2 separate regions of the Homo sapiens genome follow, and region 2 is linked to region 1. Evidence: promoter capture Hi-C in human tissues and cell types (Jung and others, 2019). All regions are on one chromosome and are shown on one strand. Each heading gives the region's core, a stretch centred on a gene start or on the middle of the fragment in contact. The rest is flanking DNA. Distances are from core to core; before and after follow the strand shown.

The links. Contacts are between HindIII fragments. The study calls those that stand out against the background at their distance.
Region 2: the fragment with the promoter of FES here is called in contact with the fragment with the promoter of BLM in region 1 in 2 of the 25 tissues and cell types used here (spleen and stomach).

Annotation. Positions count from the first base shown.
Region 1 is chr15:90,715,878-90,719,117 of GRCh38, reverse strand. BLM (BLM RecQ like helicase) reads right to left here and starts at 1,772. Exons shown (of 22, transcript NM_000057.4): 1 at 1,678-1,772. CRTC3-AS1 (CRTC3 antisense RNA 1) reads left to right here and starts at 1,978. Exons shown (of 4, transcript NR_120372.1): 1 at 1,978-2,137. The HindIII fragment of the contact is 5,728 bases long and covers 421-3,240 here.
Region 2 is chr15:90,882,836-90,886,075 of GRCh38, reverse strand. FES (FES proto-oncogene, tyrosine kinase) reads right to left here and starts at 1,572. Exons shown (of 19, transcript NM_002005.4): 1 at 1,532-1,572; 2 at 818-1,039; 3 at 491-664. The coding sequence starts at 1,030. FURIN (furin, paired basic amino acid cleaving enzyme) reads right to left here. Exons shown (of 16, transcript NM_002569.4): 16 at 2,619-3,240. RefSeq lists enhancers at 427-856, 2,394-2,523 and a silencer at 1,487-1,996. The HindIII fragment of the contact is 25,407 bases long and covers 1-3,240 here.

The sequences.
Region 1 (3,240 bases), core at 523-3,022:
TGGGAGGCTGAGGCAGGAGAATGGCATGAACCCGGGAGGCGGAGCTTGCAGTGAGCCAAGATCGCGCCACTGCACTCCAGCCTGGGCGACAGAGCGAGACTCCATCCCCCAAAAACAAAAACAAAAACAAACTCACTCATTCCAGGAATGACTATGAAAAAGGAAAAAACAGATAAAAATTTAAAAATCAAAACAATAAACTATCACTCATTCCCCTTACCTTTTTCCCTTCCCTTCCTGCTCATAGGTAATACCACCTGTCCTGAAGCGGATGTGTAGAACTTCCCAGCATGATGATGTTCTACTGCACATCTAACACTTTTCCTGATTTTTTAACTCTTGGTTTCCTCAGTAAAACGAAGGAAATAACTACTTCTCCAGGTTACTGATAGGACTGTAAACTATACTTATAAGGTACCTGTCATGGTGAGTGGCATTGAAAGTGACACAGGACCCAGAAATTTCATTTCTTCCCAGTAGATTATAAGCTACTGTCTGACAGTATAAGCAGCCCAGCTAACAAAATGTTGATTTAATTAATTCTATTTACTATTCCCCAAACAGAATACTTTTGCCTACCCGCTTCTTCATCTTCTGATCTCTCATGCAGTCTCTCGAATTCCTGTCCCTTAATCTTGACAGTGACACACCAGTGTTATTTATCTGCATGGGTGGCACAAGGAGCTGTCAGTCACCTGCTCCATCTCACGCCATGAGGTACCTAAAGTTCTGTGTGACCTAAGGACAGGTGAGGGCTATAGGAGAAAGCCTAATGTTGTGGGACATACTTTAAAATCAGGCGCTTAGTTCAAATCCTGTATCTCTAGCACTTAATCACCAAATGCTCTTTCTGTACGGAGACAACCTCTTTGTACTTCAGATTCTCCATGTCTAAAATGGGGACAATTTCATCCGCTTCTCTGGGTAATGATAACAGAACCCTTACTGTGTACTATGTAACAGGTAGCCTTCGAAGCATTTATTATTGCATATATTAAGTCGTTTAATCCTAACAAAAACGCCAGGAAGTAGAAGAGACCATTTCCCCCATATGACAGACGAAAACCAAGACACTTAGTGTTTCAGTAACGTGCAGTAGACACAGAGCTAAATGTGAAGGAGCCAGAATTCGAACCCAAGCAATCTGATGCAGTATTCTTAAGCACTTCGCTTTGCTGGGATATCGTAAAGCTACAGTTGTAAGATCAAGGGTGCCAGGAACATGGCACACAGTAGACACTCAAAAACAAGAGTAGCCCAGCTCGTGATTATGGAAGGCCACAGAAAAAGTACAAAGTGTTTTCGTTGTTCCTCAGGAGGGACACGGAGGTAGTAGTGCCAGAGGTCTGGGCTGGGATTACTCTGTGCAGGGCATCATGTTACGCACTGGAGTATATGGGCAACAACATGCCAGGTCCTAGCCCATGCTCGGCCTCCGACGCCCCGGGAGACCTTGGCAGAGTTCGCCCCCGCCCCGGGCCTCTGTTTCCCCATTTGGGAACGTATTTATGTATCTGCTGTCCTCCCAGGATGTTGGCCAGACTAGAGGACTCAGCGGGCCGAGGCGAACCAGTGCAGGAAACGGAAGAACCCGAGCGGCCTCCAGCTCCGGGCCGGGCCGCCAGAGCAGGGCTAGATCAATGCGGACCGACCCGTAGTTACGCGCGCGGTACTCACCTCGCACGCAGACTCCTAGCGGACGGAACCAGGATCCAAACTTCCCGCGCCGCAACCACGGCCGCCGCGCCAAGCCCTGGCTCACTTCCCGCCGGAAGCTTGCCTATTCCGATTGGCTGCTTCCTGGGGAAGCCGACCAATACTGTCGCACTCGGACATCTGTTCCCGCCCCCTCAGGCTGCTGGGGCGGGGTCGCCGTACAGCGCCGGGAGGGACGCGTATCTCCAAAGCCCAATCAGAGTCCGGACGGGAGGGTCAGATGACTACGGTTACATCTCGGGCTTCCGGAGCTAGTTGGGTCTTTGTTTTTGGTGTTTTAGAGTCGGTGAAGGCTTTAAAGGAAGTAGGCAGCTGGAACCCGGCTGTGGCGGGTTGAAAAGCCCGGGCGTTTGAGAGCTGAGACTTGCCAGTTCCCACAGGCCAAGCCAGGCGTCTGCACCCCATTCTCTTGGTTCCGACGGTGTGTCTCTGCGATGTTTTGGCGGTCTCTCCTCTCCATCCCCTTAATAATACTGGTCTCTGTTTCACCCGTACCCCTCTACACGAGCAGGTGCAAATTGTCATTGAACCGGGAAAGTGGGCACACACTCAGATGCCTCCATGGACACGTGAGAAACCATGCTTCTGTTTCAGCCTATTGCTGACACGCGGGAATGTGGGCCCTGTGATGCCAGATCTTACTTTCTTTCCTTTCTTCCTCTCTTCTCCCCTCTCTACTTCCTTCCCTCTCTCCTTCCCTCCCGCCCTCCCTCCTCTTTGTGTGTGTGATAAAATCTATCTAACATAAAATTCACCATTTTTAAGTGTACAGTTCACTGGCATTAAGTACATTCACATTGTTGTGAAACCATCACCACTATCCATCTCCAGAACTTTTTCATTATCCCAAATAGAAAATCTGCCTGTTACACAGTAACTCCCCGTTACCCGTTTCTCACAACCCCTTATAGCCGATATTGCACTTTCTGTCTGTAAGTGCGAGGTACCGCATATAAATTGAATCATACAATAATTGCTCTTTTCTGATTGGCTTATTTCACTTAGCATAATGTCTTCAAGGAGCATCTATGTTGTAGCATGTATCAGAATTTCTTCCTTCTTGAGGCTAAATAATATTCCATTATACATGTATACTACATTTTGTTTATCCATTCATCCATATAAATGGATGCTTGGTTATTCCCACCTTTTGGCTATTGTGAATAATGCTGCTATGAACTTTGGTATACAAATAATCATTCTCCACATAATACGCAGAAAGAGTTTTCTAAAATGTAAAAATCTGTTCAAGTTACCTCCCTCCTGAAAATCTTCTATGGTAAATTGAAACCAAAATATGATACTATTAAACACTCCATAGAATAGCTGAAATGAAAAGACTGACAATTCCCTTAGTTGCAAAGATGCAGAAATGGGACTCTCATACAGTGTTGATGGGAGTGTAAAATGGTACAACCACTTTGGAAACATCAGTCTCTACTGAAATCAAATTTACCCCTACCCTATACCCCAGAAATCCCATTTCTAGATATTTACCCCAAAAAATGAATGCCTTTATTCACC
Region 2 (3,240 bases), core at 323-2,822, 170 kb before region 1:
ATCACACAGCCTCTAGACTGAGGAGCTGGGTGGGATTCAAACCTAGGCAGGCTGACTTCACGGCCCGAATCCTCGACCTTCGGGGGGCCATGCTGCTGCCCAGTCTCTGGGGCCCTGAGAGGAGGCTGCCTAGGTCGAAGGCAAACAGACTGACCCTCATTCCTCTCCCTGACTCTCAGAACCCAGAGCCAGATGGCACAGTGTGGAGGCGAGTACCGATTCTGAGCTTCTCCCAGGCACGTGACCGGTCACTCATCCTTACACTCCCAGCACTTTGCCCAGGCACAGAAAAAGCACAGAGAGGCCTTGCTGCAAGCCAGCTCAACGTAGGGGAAGGAAGAGAGGAAGCTGCATCAAGGTTAGAGCAAGCCAGGCCTGCGGTCAGGGACTTACACTTCCCCAGTGAATCCAGGGCCTCTTGTGCAAAACAACCCCTTCGAGGCTCAAAATTTAGACAGAAATGACCGAAGCCCCAGTGCTGCCCGCTCACCTTGGTGAGCTCCTGCTGCAGCTGCTGCCACTGCTCGCTGTAGGTCTTGCGAAGCTGCTGCCGTTCCCGGATGAGCAGGCTCAGCTTGCTCAGGGGCCCTGAGTTCAGATCCTCTGCGTGCTGCCGCAGCAAGCGGCTCAGGCCCTCAGTTTGGCTGGTGATCTCAGCCCAGGACTATACAGCACAGATGGGGGAGGCAGGGAGGGGGGCACAATGGCTCCCAAGCATTGGCCTGCCAGATCTCCAGCCACTGCCCCAGAGGGCCCCCAGGAGAGGAAGGAGAAGGCAGATACAGCCAGCACCCACCAGAGTCCCATAGAGACCCACCTGACTGATGGGGCTGTCAGGGCTGATGGCCCGGCTCTGGCCCCCACTGTCCTGCAGGGACATGTGGTGAAGCAGTCCTGCATACTCCCTGTCACTCTTGACCCGCTGGGCCATCCACTTTCTCATGCCCTCCAGTAGACGAAGCTCGGCCTCCTGCATTTGCTGCAGGACCCCGTGGCCCTGGGGGCTGCACAGCTCGGAAGAGAAGCCCATAGTGCTGTTCTGGGGACAGAAAAGGGGCCATCCCTGGAGGCAAGGCAGCAGCTGGAGACGGAGGCATGGGACGAGGAGACTGGGGACTGTAGGGTCAGGATGGACTGCAGACGGGGAGGAGGTGGGGTCCTGCCTCGCTCACACGCAGCCATGGGTACCCAGCAGCAGCCTGGCCTGGGGACTGGCCCTCATTGCTTCCTTAGCGTCAGGGTCTCCTCCGCACGTTCGGGAACAGGAGCCAACCTGGAGCCTCCCTCCCCAGGCCCTTCCACCCACCACCCCTTACAGGGACACCCTTGCCCAGGTCCTCGACAGGCCAAGCCTGCCCCAGCTGAAGCCTCAGGCGCCCACAGCCTGAGCCCTGCCCCTGCGGCCATCCCCGCCCTTCCGCGGCCCCTACCCCCACCTGGGTGGGTCTCTGGCCCTCGGAACGCCTGCTCTGCCCCTGCCTGCCGCGCCCCCAGCTCCCACCGCTCCTCCAGGCCCCGGGGCTAGAGGTACCCGCACGGGCAGCTGCTCCTGGGACGGCCTCGGACCGACTCAGGCCCGGTGCGGACCCCGGCCAGTTCCTGATTCCGCGCTTCCTCCTCCCGCGGTTTCAGTTGGCCCAGGCCCCGGGGCGGGCCTGTGGAGGGGAAGGGGCGGGCGGGACCGGCCCGACCGCCCCGACGCCTGCCAGCCCCCCTGCTCCGCGCTGGGCCGCAGCCTCTAGCCGGCCGCACGGCCACGGAAACGGAAGGGAGGAGGGGGCCGGGAAAGAATGGCCCAGCCAAGAGCCGCCCGCGCCCCGCAGGCCCCAGGGCCCGGCAGCGCCCCGGGAACACCGGGAAGGGGCGCAAGGTGGGGGTCAGGAGGGGGAGCCCAGGGCGAGGCCCCAGGCAGATGCTGGGCCCAGGGAAGCCCAGGGTGTCCGCGGGTACTGAGGGGAGGCGCGCAGTCCTAGCACCAGGCCAGGGCCACCGCAGAAGAGAAAGAGGGAACCCTGGTCCCAGCCCTCCCCACCTCACGGAATTCCCTAAGGAGAGGCTCAGGCGCCAGCTTCCATTTGAATAAAATTTCCAAGTAAATATCCCGAACAGAGACTGCTTCTCGGATACAGATCCTAGTGGTTTTGTCCCCATCCTCCTACCCCCAGGCAGGGGCTTCCTGTCCCAAGGGAGACCTGGGGAAATCAAGGGGCAGGGGTTGGGGAGCGGACAGGCGTGGAGTTTTCCATTTGGGACTCAGGCTCCCCACAAGAAGTCATCTTGATTCAGTCAGGCCTCCCTCCACCTTAGGCCTCAGCCCTATAGCCTGTGGCGACCAGATCACTTCAGCCCAGGAAGACACAATAGGCCCAGTTCTTCACACTGCTGGAAACCAGGACTTTGGGAGTTTAGTGCTCAGCTCCTGAGGACCAGGGGTCACCAGCCCCACCCCAGGGGCACCAGCTCCTCCACTAGGGGCTGGCGCATCCTCCCGCCCCTTGGAGGACTTTGGCCTTCTGACTTGGGCCCACATCCAGGCAGGCAGGCCACTGTGTAGGCCTAACTGGCCCCCTATCCTCAGCTGCGATGCAGGAGCAACGGTACCACACTGGAGACTGGGCCTGGTTTGCATAGTCTGCACGTTTAATCACTTTAAAACCTCTAACATTATCTCATGTCCATTAAATAGAACCAGCAATGCTGGGCCTGTTTAAATTACAAGAAAAAAATCACTGTGCACCAACCCAGCATCTTACAAAACCAGCCGGGCTGGCCACGAGGGCAGGGGGATGGGAGAGGAGGGGGCACCCCTGGGCAGATGGCTGGGTACCAGGAATGGCTAGGGTAGAAAAGAAAAGGGGACTCCCAGATGGGAGGGGACTGATTGTCCTAATGGGAGGGGTGCAAAAGGCACGTCAGAAGAGGAGGTTTGAGGGGGGCATGACAGGTCAGTGCTTTCTCCACCAGGGCACAGTGTTGGGGGGGCTCAGTGCCACCACCTGCCCACCTCTGGCACTTGGAGAGCCAGTGACCTATGAACCCCCGGCATGGCGAGCCCCACTTGAAACACAGATGTCAGCCTGCCCCTCCCACTGGGACCCCCTTTCCTTGAGCCCGCCTGGCTGGCCCGCCTCTTCAGGACTTGGGGCTCAACTATTCCTCACTCCTCAGCAACATGCTGCAGCCCCCACACCTCAGGGCCAGGGCAGCCAGGGAGGAGCAGGGCGGACGGTGGGTGTGAGA